Linked DNA regions of Homo sapiens: region 2 is linked to region 1. The links are contacts of gene promoters, found by promoter capture Hi-C in blood cells and fetal thymus (Javierre and others, 2016). All regions are on one chromosome and are shown on one strand. Each heading gives the region's core, a stretch centred on a gene start or on the middle of the fragment in contact. The rest is flanking DNA. Distances are from core to core; before and after follow the strand shown.

Evidence for each region. Contacts are between HindIII fragments. The CHiCAGO score rates a contact against its expected background, and 5 or more counts as called.
Region 2: a fragment that was not itself captured here is called in contact with the fragment with the promoter of TCF7L1 in region 1 in 1 of 17 cell types (endothelial precursors); the score reaches 5.8 in endothelial precursors.

Annotation. Positions count from the first base shown.
Region 1 is chr2:85,130,076-85,136,401 of GRCh38, forward strand. It overlaps TCF7L1 (transcription factor 7 like 1), which reads left to right and starts at 3,317. Exons shown (of 12, transcript NM_031283.3): 1 at 3,317-3,858; 2 at 3,941-4,004; 3 at 4,248-4,375. The coding sequence starts at 3,610. RefSeq lists a silencer at 2,917-2,986 and enhancers at 3,352-3,926, 4,502-5,076, 5,077-5,650. The HindIII fragment of the contact is 24,991 bases long and covers 1-6,326 here.
Region 2 is chr2:85,187,661-85,193,986 of GRCh38, forward strand. All of the region lies in intron 3 of TCF7L1 (transcription factor 7 like 1), which reads left to right. Among named protein-coding and RNA genes, the nearest start is that of TCF7L1-IT1, 4.4 kb to the left of the region's middle. RefSeq lists an enhancer at 2,131-2,632. The HindIII fragment of the contact is 734 bases long and covers 3,528-4,261 here.

The DNA.
Region 1 (6,326 bases), core at 2,067-4,566:
CTTCTGGTATTTTGACTCCTCACGTCCTGGCTGACTTGGTTGACAGTGATGCCTTCAACTCAGCTGGGTTTTGTTGTTTTATTTTGGTATTTTATCCAGTTTATAGTTAGTTGTTCTTGATGAAGGAGTCAATCTGACATCAATACCCCATTAGAATGGGAAGTGGAAGTCTACATGTTAATTTTAATTTGCTACTTTTGCTTACCATTATGAGCCTCCTTCTATATTGACAAATATATCTCCACAATGTCATAACATTCCATTAGATGAATGCACCATGATTTAACTTAATAATTCCCTATAGGGGACATTGAAATTGTTTCTAGATTTTTTCACTGTGATGAACACACTTCTACAGGTTTATTTTTGTACCTAGTTGTTTCCTTCAGATAAAATCCTAGAAGTACGTGGATAAGTCAAAGGGTTCACACTTTTAAAGGTATTTCACAGGTATTACCAAACTTCTCTTTAGAACTGTTACACAATGGCCCAGCATCTATGTGCTTCTTAGTATAGGGGCCAATGCTGGGTGTTACCATTCTTTTCTTCCTTTGCCAATCTGACAGATGAAAACTGGTTATCTCAATGCTGTTTCCGTTTGCATTTCTGGTTTATAGGTGTGGCAGGCTGATAATGGCTTACTCCCAAAGCTGCATCTATGACCTAATCCCTGGAAACTGTGAATGTTTAAGGAAAAGAGGTCTTTGCAGATATGAAGTTAAGGATTTTGACATGGACAGGTTATCCAGGTGGTCCTTAAATGCTATCACAAGTATCACTTTTTTTTTTTTTTTTTTTTTTTTGAGACAGAGTCTCACTCTGTCGCCAAGGCCGGAGTGCAGTGGTGCCATCTCAGCTCACTGCAACCTCCTCCCTCCAAATTCAAGCGATTCTCCTGCCTCAGCCTCCCAAGTAGCGGGGATTACAGGCGCCTGCCACCACACCTGGCCAATTTTTTGTATTTTTGGTAGAGACAGGGTTTCACCATGTTGGCCAGGCTGGTCTGGAACTCCTGACCTCGTGATCCACCTGCCTTGGTTTCCCAAAGAGCTGGGATTACAGGCGTGAGCCACTGTGCCCGGCCACAAGTATGGTTTCTTACAAGAAGGGGGCAGAGGAAAATTTGTCACAGACAAAAAAAGGAGAAGGCAATGTGATTACAGACGCAAGGGTGGGAGTGATGTGGTCACAAGCCCCCAGAAGCTGCAAGAGACAAGGGTAGATTCTTTTCGGAGCCTCCAGAGGGAGCATGGCCCCGTCAACACCTCCATTTCTACTCAGTGAAACTGACAGTGGACTTCTGTCTTCCACAACTATGAGAGGATAAACTTCTGTTGTTTTAAGCCACCAAGTTTTCGTGATTTGTGACAGTAGCAGCAGAAAACTAGTACAATAGGTTTTTCATATATTTATGGACCATAAACATGAAAAATCGTCTGACTTTTAAATCTTATAAAAATAAAATAACACACAATAATACAAAGAGTATGATTCTATGTATGTACATCAGAATATCTGTAAATACGTTTACATATGTTCATAACTGCCTAGGAAAGTGTCTGGAAGGATATATACCAAACTAGTGACAGTGGTTAACCAGAGGCAGTTAACTGAAAGTGGTTAATTAGAAGGGTCCTGTGTCCTGAGGGGGAAAGAGGAACTTTTACTTGTTACTCGATACTGCTCAAGATACATCTGTTATTTGAAAACGCTTTATGAGACTGTACTCATGTATTGTGTAAAAAATTAGAAAAGGCATATCTGCTTGTTATAAAGTTCATAGAAACCAGAAAACTATCTCCTTTCACTTATCCTTTCCCAGAAATAGTCATTGATAATAATTTGCATCTTCTCAGATTTTTTTCTACGCAGAAATAAATGTGTATAATTTTTTTAAAAACAAAAATAAAATAGTGAGTGTCATATATAGTGTTTCATTTAAAGATGTTCCTCCAAAATCAATCTTGGTCCATGTGCCTGTGTGTGTGTGTGTGTGTGTGTGTGTGTGTGTGTGTGTGTGTGTGTGTATGGGTGGGGGGAGGGGCGGGGACACTGCATAGAACTGGCCAGCTGCATGGACTGTCACTGTAAAGAAAGATGAAGAATGCATGTCACCAAGCTCTCTGATGCTTTGAACCTAGCATATGTGGCTTTGCCCATATGTGCGGGCACCTCTGTAGAAACTCTTCTGCCAGTTGGGCTGAAAATAGTTTTACATAGTTCCATACTGCCTTCCAAGCTGTTTTCAAAGTTTATGCTCTAATAGTTCCCCACGGAGGATAACACAAGATATTCATTTTCCTCAAACTTTCCCGCACAGGTTGGAGAGAAACGACATCTTAATGTCATTGTAACAGGCATTTCTTTATTAAAAAAATTTTTTTTTTGGAGACAAGGTCTTGCTATGTTGCCCAGGCTGGTCTCAAACTCCTGGGCTCCAGCGATCCTCCTGCCTAGGCCTCGGGAGTAGATGGAACTCCAGGCGCGGGCCGTGGCGCTCGCACCACAGGCATTACTTAGGTATGAGGCTGGTTGAGCATTTTTCTCGTGTTCACTGGCTACTCACGCAGCTTTGTGAATGGCTTCGGAGATCACTGGACAGGCAATTTTCCCTCTCAATGAACCAAATCCAAATTCTTTTGGAACCCAAGACCGCGATTTTTCGATTTAGGACCTAGTCCCAAACAATGAAGAAAAGGTGATCTTCAAGATTTCAGCAGGGAAATCTGTATATCTGTACAAGGTTGAAAACCTGGGCCGGGGGTCGCGTTGGAACCCCACAGGAAAAAGGCGCGGAAAGCCGCCGGGCATTTTCCGGGGTTCCATAGATGTCCCCAGTGTCCTAGTCCGTGCATCAGCTCGCGCACTCGGAGGGACTCTAGGCAGGGGGAGGGCCCCGCGGCCAGTATGTGCGTCCGAGGCTTTCCCGCAGGGGGCAGTGCCGCCCGCCCGCGCGCCGATACGGTGGGAGGGGGTGGGAACCTGCGCGGAGTTCTGGAGGTTCTTTGGGAGAAAGTTAGGGGATGCGGAGGGGTGGGCGCAAGACTTCCAGGACTCCAGGGAGGCCGTGGGGAGGGCCGCCGAGGGTGCAGTGTGAGGCGCAGGAGGGGGTTGGGGGCGGTGCACGTTGCAGGGAGACGCAGCCCCTGGAAGATGCGAGTGTGAACGTGTGAGTGTGAGTGCGTGTGTATGTGTGTGTGTGCGCGCGCACCGCAGCTCTCCGGGTTCCGCGAGGCGCGCGGGTGTCAGCTTGCAGCCGGGGCTCCTCCCTCCGGCCCCCCTGCCCAGCCCGGCGGTCCCTCCTCCCTCCCTCCCCGCTCGCCCCTCCCCGGCGGGCCAGGGGCTGGGACGCCCCGGCGGAGCAGGCGGCGGCGGTGGCGAGTTGGGGAGCCCTAGGCTCGGCGCTGCCGGAGGGGCCCGAGCCGAGCCGCCTGCGCCCCGGCCGGGCAGCGCCGGGCCCGCTTCCCGCGGGGCCACGCCCTGTCAAACTTTGTTGCGGCGGCTAGCGCAGCGGGCCCGCAAGCGGGCGGGAGGGGCGCCGGGCCGGGCCGGGCAGGGCGCGGGCGGCTAGGGGCTCCGAGAGCGGCGGCCCCGGCCCGCGGCCCCACCATGCCCCAGCTCGGCGGCGGGGGCGGCGGCGGCGGCGGCGGCAGCGGGGGAGGCGGCGGCTCCAGCGCCGGGGCGGCCGGCGGAGGGGACGACCTCGGGGCGAACGACGAGCTGATCCCCTTCCAGGACGAGGGGGGCGAGGAGCAGGAGCCGAGCAGCGATAGCGCCTCGGCGCAGCGGGACCTAGACGAGGTCAAGTCGTCCCTGGTCAACGAGTCGGAGAACCAGAGCAGCAGCTCGGACTCGGAGGTAAGGAAGCACCGCGGCCACCCCCGGGGGATCCCGGCCCTGCGTCCGCTCACCCGCTCTTGCCTTTGTGTCTCCTCCGCAGGCGGAGAGGCGCCCGCAGCCCGTCCGGGACACTTTCCAGAAGCCGCGGGACTATTTCGCCGAAGGTATGTGCCCGCTGGGACAGCCCCCCACTCTCGATTCCCGCTGCGCTCCGCTGCTCAGCCCGGGCGGCCCACCGTCCCCCTTGCTTGGGTGGACGCACCCTTGCCCTCCGCCTTTATTGGCGGCAGCCCCCGTGGGGCGCGCGTGGGGGGCGCTGGGGTCCCCAGCTCCCGCCTCGAGCCCCCTGCCGCGGCGCTGTCAGTCCCGGGGGCCTGGGCCTCACCTCGCCTTGGTCTTGTTCGCAGTGAGAAGGCCTCAGGACAGCGCGTTCTTTAAAGGACCCCCGTACCCTGGGTACCCCTTCCTGATGATCCCGGACCTGAGCAGCCCGTACCTCTCCAACGGACCCCTGTCTCCCGGAGGAGCGCGCACCGTGAGTGCCCGTCGGGCGCGCCGGGGAGGGTGGGAGGCCGCGGCCCGCAGGATGCGCCCCCGGGCTTGGCCATGGAGTGGGGGATGGGGCCTTCTGCGCCGATCCCAAGCAGAACTTGTTTGCGGAGTTGAACTACTCTCTGGCGGCCGAGCGCGAGGCTGCGCTGGCCAGTGCCTGGATGAAAGTAAAGTTACTTTAACTTTTCCCCTCTTGCGGGTTGAGGTTTTGGAGTCCACCTCTGGGATCTTCCTTGGCCTCCAGAATTCTTCGCCTGCACCGAAGGAAACTTGGATTTGTGCCCGCTTTGGGGGGGTCTCGCTTTCCTTCTTGGAAATCGGTCAGCTTTCTCTGGCAGTGGGGCAAGGGGCCTAGGGAGCTGGGTTGGCGACGTTGTCCTCCGACTCCGGGTTCACTGGGCGGCTGCAGGCTGGTTCCTAAGAAACCCAGTTTTCGTGGCGGGTTATTCACAGCCCCCGTTCCCACCCCCAGCCCTCGCACCGGGGCCTCAGCTTTTCTGCGGAGCTAGCTCCGAATTTTAAACTCGCGTAGATGATTTCGAGGCGACCCAAGGCATTCTTCAAGTTGAGGAACTTGGCTTTTTCCCCCTTTTGTCGCCTGCTTTTCTCATTTAAAGCGAGCGCTGCGACACTTTAAACCTGTTAATGGGCGCGTATTGTGTGCTGCCCGCTGGCATTTAGAGCGGTGATTAAGCAAATTGACCGGGCCCCAGACGACGTGCAAATGAGGGCGGATTCCTTCGCCCCCTCTCTCTGGCTCTAAACTCCCGCCCCCCGCGTTGCGAGGGGCGCAGCTGGGGGCTGGCGAGGCCTTTGTGTCCCCCAAGCCGCCACTCCACCCCTAGGCTCCCTGCCCAGGTGCTGGGTCCGATGACAGATGTTGGGTGAACGCCTACCTACTGTGTGCCAGGTTCCCGCGTGCTGCTGCTTGGGCGCGATGTGAATCGTAGTAGTTCTTTGCTTCCCGCCCAGATTCCCATTGCCTGCCACTTCGCTGTCGACGGTGGGTAAGGGGGCAGGGAGTGTTAGCCTCTTAGGAGCAGGGTCCCAGCAACACACTTTATGCTAAGACTGCCCTAAAATAACGACGATAATTAAAGGGTGCTAGAGAAAGGCTAGGTGCTGAATGGCCATTCCTGCTGTCATTGTACAGCGGTCGGTGGAGAGCCAAGTCCTCCACATTTGGTTCAGCGGGGGCGCTACCATCACCAGATGGGTTGGAGGGGGATTGACGGGGGGCGGTGGAAGAGACTCTGACTGAGAGAGAGGGGAATGGGGAGTGGGACTACACAGACCTCACAGTTTTGCCCCGAGAGGGAGGGAGGTCTTGCAGCTTTGGCCCTGCTGGCCTGGAGCACCCCAGGAAGTCCTGAATGTAAGTGTCAGTTTTGCAGTGAAAACTGGATGTGGGTCTATGGCTGTTGCTTTTTCTCATTAAAAGAAAAGAGGTGCGTGCCAATCAAAGGGGGGGGGGGATCAACGAGCTGCTGCGGTCTTATTTAGGTTTTCAGTGATTCCCACCAGTGCCCACACATGTAGCTTAGTTCTGCAAGTTTTGTTGGGATTCGTGTAACTTTGCGTATGGGGGAGAGTTAATGCCGCTAAAGTCTCAGGTTTCCATTTACTATTAGGATATCTAGAGAGAGGGGTCTGGGAGGCACTAGCATCTGTGCATCAGCCCTCAGCCAAGTCCTGATGCAGTTAAAGTCACCAGAAATGACTATTTCACCATCAAATATGACTATGGCTCCCTCAAGGCTATTTCTCCATGCACCCATTTCTCTTTAGGGCATTTTGATTCATCCAGGCTCTGCTGTCTGCTCTCTCTGACAGTCCAAGTGAGACAGATTTTTGTTAGTGTCCCCTCCTTCCTTCCTTCTATCACATTATGTGTTCTTTCGCCTAAGAACTTCCAAAGGCTGATTCTTGCTGAT
Region 2 (6,326 bases), core at 2,645-5,144, 58 kb after region 1:
TATTGTGTTCCATTGATCTCCATGTCTAGCCCTCTACCAAGACCATGCTGTCACAGTTACTGGAGCTATATAGTAAGCCTTAACACTGGGAAGAGAGATTCCTTTATTCTTTTTCAAAATAGTTTTGGCTCTTCTAGGGCCTTTCTCTTATGTTCACAAGGAAACTTATACATGTGAATGTTCATAACACCTTCATTCAAAATAGCCTCAATCTGGAAACTATCCAGATGTTCTTCAGTGGTGTATGGTTGACCAAACTGTGGTATATCTATACCATGGAATACAGCAATAAAAAAGAAAAAATTATTGATCACATGCAACAATATAGGCGAGCCTCAAGGAAATGATGCTGAACGAAAAAGTCAGTCTCCAAAGGTTATATACTGCATTTGCCATTTATATAACATTCGTGAAATGACAAAATTATAGCGAGGGGGAACAGATGAGTGGTTGCCAGGTGCTAGGGATGAGGGGAATAAGGGATAGGTGTTGCTCAAAAGGGGTAGCATGAGAGAATCTGGTGGTAATGGTACAGTTTAGTATTTTGATTGTGGTTGTTACACAAAGCTACACATGTGACAAAATTACATAGGGCTACACATACACACACACACACGAGTGTTTGTAAAACTGGTGAAATCTGAGAAAGTTCTGTGGAGTGTGCCAATCTCAATATCCTAGTTTTGATAGCATGCTAGTTAGCTATGCAAGACGTTAACATCGGGGGAGGCTAGGCTAGATGCTTGGAACCTCCCTGTACACTTTTTTTCCAACTTCCTATGAATCTATAATCATTTTGAAATAAAAAGTTAAAACAATATTACATTCTGTTTATGTCACATCAAGAATGGCAAACCTGTAAAAATATGGACATACAGTTGCCTCTGCAAAAGGAGGCTTCATCTGATTTCATAACATTTTATTTGTTTAGAAAAACCTGGTCTTGAAGCAAACATAACAAAATGTTAACATTTGTGAATTTAGGATGATGGATTTTATTTGTTGTGTTTTTCCCTGTCCTTTATTATGTGTTTGAATCATTCCATTATTTAAAAAATAAAATAAATGTAAACAAAAGCAATAATTATGCCAGGGTATGTATCTCCCTGGTATCTTGGTCCACTCACAAAAGTGGTCTGAATGTTTAATATTTCCTTAGTAAAACTGCTACTTGGTCACAGGCTTCTCTCCATGAATTACTAACTCCGGGTTGGGAAGCCTAAGAACATAATCCATCTTTTTTATTATGACAAGCTAATTTAATTTTAATTGCTCCTTATAGTATTGCATTATGAGGAGGAACTATCTTTAATTATCTTTTTGGGGGGGTGTTTCTAAAGTAATGTGATCTCAGAAGCAGAGCATCGTCCCTTCCAAAGTAGCCACCTGACTGTGAACTTAAAATATTTGTGTGCAACAGTGTAAATAGACTTCTCTGCTCCTCCAACTGGTGGAGGCTGCCCTTCCCCCCGAAGCAATTAAAAGAATTCCAGATGGGTGATTCTCCCCTTCCTGGTCCTATTTAAAAATACAAGTGTCGCTTCGGGGATTTTTTTTTTCCTGGAATATACCAAGTGAGTGACACAAGAATTGGGACTCTCCATTCCTGATTTAAATATTGGCCGTGTCCTTTCGAGATCATTTTTCTTGGTGACATGTTAGACAATCTCAGGTCAGTCTGTGTCCTTAAAGATCACTGTGGGTGTCAGGAATGCTGCTTACAGATGTACATGATGGGCACATGGAGGCGCCCTTCAGGGCCTTTGGCTCAGATCCCCATCCTGCTCTTAAAGAAAAGGGCATTCTGTTATTTATTTGTTGGATTTTAATTTCTGCCTCTAGCCCTCTAAGGCTTCTCCATGTAGTGCCATCCTCTGCTGCTGTTACCACCATCAGGGGTGGGGGTAGGGGTGCTGTACAGTTGGCGGCCAGAGGATGCCATTGAAAAGTGGAGAAGTCTTCACACTGCTCTTTGTGGAAGGACGGCCTCCCTTCCCGTGGGCAAACCCCGGGGCTGGAGCCCTCCCAGCTGCCCAGTGGCTTTTGTGTGTGTGCAGCTTTCAGCTCCTGTCCATCAGGCTGAAAGGGCCCATTCAGGGGCATTCATGCGCCTCCGAGACCCCGGCCGCCTGGACACAATCAGCTGAGAGGGGCGCTGCGAGCCTTGCACATGAGAATGCGCCCACTCGGCCTGCCTCCAATTGTTTGGAGAAGCCCAGGGCCCGGGAGTGAGCCCAGAGGAATGACACTGGACAGCCACTTGGGGTTCATTCATTCTGTGCACTTGGAGCCTCTGGAAGGGAGGGGTGGGAATACCTTGCAGTGAGCTGGGAATGAGCAAGTTCAGGGCTGCTAGGGCTTATCTTTGGTCCTGACCTTCAGCTTTTATCTTTGTGTACACCTCTTGGAGCCCCTGCTTAAGGGTAGAGACCTTGTCTTCTTTATCTTTATAGTCCCACATACCTGAGGCACTCAGTAAGTCCTTGTTGAAGGAGTGAACTACATTGCTGCTCCTTTCATATAGCCCCAGGCACACTGATGTACTTTACTGTCCTTTGAAGAGGCCACAGAATATTTTGCCTCTTGGGGTGTGATCACCTTACTGAAAAGACTGGGCTCACCTCTTAGGTCAAGGAGAGTAGACTTTGAGATCTTGGAGGGACGAAGGACATTTTCAAGGTGGGAAGTTGCCGTAGAACAGAGTGCTGATGGCCAGGGATCTGCATTTGGAATTTGAGAGGCTGAGTAAGGAGCACCATAGGCCTCTGCAGAGGCCAGTCTTGGGTGGCTGGTTTGCAGGAAAGGGCAGGACCTGGTGCTGACTTGGAACCAGTTGGTGGTAGATGTGGAGATGGGAGAATGGACTTCATGGACACTTACCATATGGCAGCCAACACCCTGGGAACCTCTGGCACCTGATGACTGACCTAGGAACATGGGGGAATGAAAAGCACAGGCCAAGATGCTAAGGAGCCTTTGTGTTTCTTAGTTTTACAAAATTGTGTTTAAGGATCACAGCAGCAGCAGTCACAGTAGTAGCCAAAGAGATAGTAGAATCTTCTATTTATTGGGAACTTACTGGACTAAGAGCTTTGTACATAATACTTCACTGACTTAAGCTGTTCTGTTGTTATATACACCCACGTATGAGTGGTAAGTGCTGCAGGCATTTTAAGGTAGGAAAGGTTATTATTCCCATTTATGGACGCAATACCTGAGGCTCAGAAATATTAAGTGGCTTCCCAAGGTGAGTGGCAGAGCTTCAGTGGAAACGGGGGCTTAGGCTCTTAGCAACTGAGGCGAGGGCTGCTGCCAGCATTAATGACTCTGGTGCAGTGAACTGAGTTATCTTTATAATTTCTCCTTCAATTTTAAGTGTTAAGAAAGAAGGAAGAAAAGGAAAAATACCTCTACTAGTCTTTAAGAGCCTTATAACTTATTTGGAGAAACGCAGCACACAATATAGAAACACTTGCCAAGCTGCCAGTGCCGAGTGGTGGTATCAGTGCTGAGGACAGATAGGGAAAAGCTTTCCTACTTGTCACATACCCTGGGGAGGTGATCACAAACCCACTGCATGGCCTTCCTCCCAAGGAAGGAGTTAGGTTGCCCCATGGCTAAGGGAGGGATGTAGAACCACTTAACATGACATTGGTTTCAAACCCTCTGGTCCCGCCAGCTTCTTCTGTTAGGCACAGGTGCTATGTGACATCTCACAGACCCTGATCTGGTGCCAGCCCAGGCCAGATCACCAAACCCTGCCTGGCCTCAGCTCCCTGCACTATGCAATGGTATAGAAGTGGGATGGCACCTCTCATAGGGTTAGTTAGTATTTGCATGCTGTGTGCTCTGTACTACTCTGTTTAGTGCATTTAGAAGTTGATTTCCTTGGCACGTGACTCATGCCTGTAATCCCAGCACTTTCGGAGGCTGAGGAGGGCAGATCACGAGGTCAGGAGTTCGAGACCAGCCTGATCAACGTGGTGAAACTCTGTCTCTACTAAAAATACAAAGATTAGGTGGGTGTGGTGGCAGGTGCCTGTAATCCCAGCTACTCGGAAGGCTGAGGCAGGAGAATCGCTTGCAGCTGGAAGGCAGAGGTTGCAGTGAGCTGAGATTTTGTCACTGCACTCCAGCCTGGGCAACAAGAGTGAAACTCCATCTCAAAAAAAAAAAAAAAAGAAGTTTATTTTATTTCCTCATTGGATGTGACCAACTTCCTACAAAGGGAAGAAACTTCATCTTCAAGTCCCTAGGATAAAGCTTTTCATAGGGAGGGGACAAAAATTTAACTCCAGGTCACCAAGAGAAGTCATTTTGCAGCATGGAACTTAGTGCACTTTTGTTTTCACTATGGTCCCAGAATCCATTTGTCCTCTGACAAGGGGACTCTGTGCTGCATAGGGCTGGGTGTTCCAGCTATGTAGCCCTGTGCCTGATGGCAGGTGCAGCCACAGTTAGCTGAGGGGCAGTGGTCTCCATTCAGAGGTCTGCTTCCTTCTACCCTATTTCACCCTAATGAAGATATGTCATCTTGCAAATGACTACATGTTTTCTATCCTCCTCATTTCTAATCCTGAATTTAAGCATTGGAAAGAGCTTGAGCAAATCAGTCAGCTACCGCCCCTCTCCCCCAAACTCAGTCTAGTCATCTGCAAAATGGAGCTAGCAGTGAAAACAGTATGTATTAAATGAGATGATACATGTGAAACATGTAGAGCTCTAATTTTATTTTTTTTTTATTTATTTTTTTGAGACAGAGTCCCGATCTGTTGCCCAGGCAGTGGTGTGATGTTGGCTCACTGCAACCTCCGCCTCCCGGATTCAAGCGATTCTCATGCGTCAGCCTCCTGGGTAGTTGAGATTACAGGCATGTATGCCCAACTGATTTTTGTATTTTTAGTAGAGATGGGGTTTTCAGCATGTTGTTCAGGCTGGTCTCGAACTCCTGGCCTCAGGTGATCCATCTGCCTCGGCCTCCCAGAGTGCTGGGATTACACGTGTGAGCCGTGGCACCTGGCCTAACTAATCTTTTTTTTTTTTTTTTTAAGTGCACTGCACTGAAGTGCAGTGGTGTGATCACAGCTCATTGCAACCTTGAACTCCTGGGCTCAAGTGATCCTCCTGCCTCAGCCTCCCGAGTAAGTGGGATACAGGCATGCACTACCATCCTTGGCTAATTTTTTTTAAATTTTTTGTAGAGAAATTTTTGTTTCTCTACCAAGTTTTTGTTGCCCAGGCTGGTCTTGAACTCATGGCCTCAAGCAATCCTCCCACCTCAGCCTCATAAAGCACCAGGATTACAGGCATAAGCCACTGTGCCCGCTCTGTCTTATCTAACTGGGTAATCACTCAATAAAATTAAGTTCTTATTTTTTCATTTGAATGAATTGTATCGATACCTGGGAGAAGCCAAAGGTTGCTTTGTTAGTTGTAACTCCGCTGACTGACCACCTTTGCTGTGCTTGATATTTATGTAGAGCACTCAGGCTAAAATGCCCATGGCTTCCCTGTCCTTTTATTCTCGTGGGTGATGGCGAGTAGAGCACAGAGGGCCAAGTGACTTGTCCAATCTGCGTAGACAGTAACAGTTCCCCATCCATGGCTCTTTCCACAGCTGAGGAGCCAAAGTCTCAGGCAGGTCTCAAAGCTGGCAAGTTTAAACTAAGTGATATTTAGTCTGGGTGGGATACTGATCATGCATTTTTCTTTCTTTTTTCTTGCTCTAAAGGGCATTATTAGGGCCGGGTGCAGTGGCTCATGCCTGTAATCTTAGCACTTTGGGAGGCCAAGGTGGCAGGATTGCTTGAACCCAGGAGTTCAAGACCAGCCTAGGCAACAAAGCGAGACCTCATGTCTATATTTAAAAATAAATAAGTAAATAAATAGAGGGCATTATCAGGACAGCTGGCAGCATTTGAATAAAGTCTGTGGATTGAGTGATAGTATTCTACCAGCGGTAGTTTTCTGTTCTTTGTTCCTTCTCCTCTACCACTGCTCCACTTGACTAGCCTTAAAAAATAAAAAGCAATTAAAATAAATAAGATGGCAATTTTATGACTAGGTAAACTGGTATTGTAAGAAAATGTCTTTTTTGGGAAATACAGAAGTATTTAGACAAAAGGGGACATCATGTGTGCATCTTACTCTAAAATGGTTTGGGGAAAAATGCATATAGAGAGAGAGATAAAGTAAGTGTAGTTAAATGTTAACATTTGGGGTATGTAGGTGAGTGGTATGTGGAAGTTCATTTTACTATTCTTGCAACTTTTGTATAAGTCTGAAATTATTTTAGTATTTAAAAGTTTAAAAAAAAAAAGGCCCTC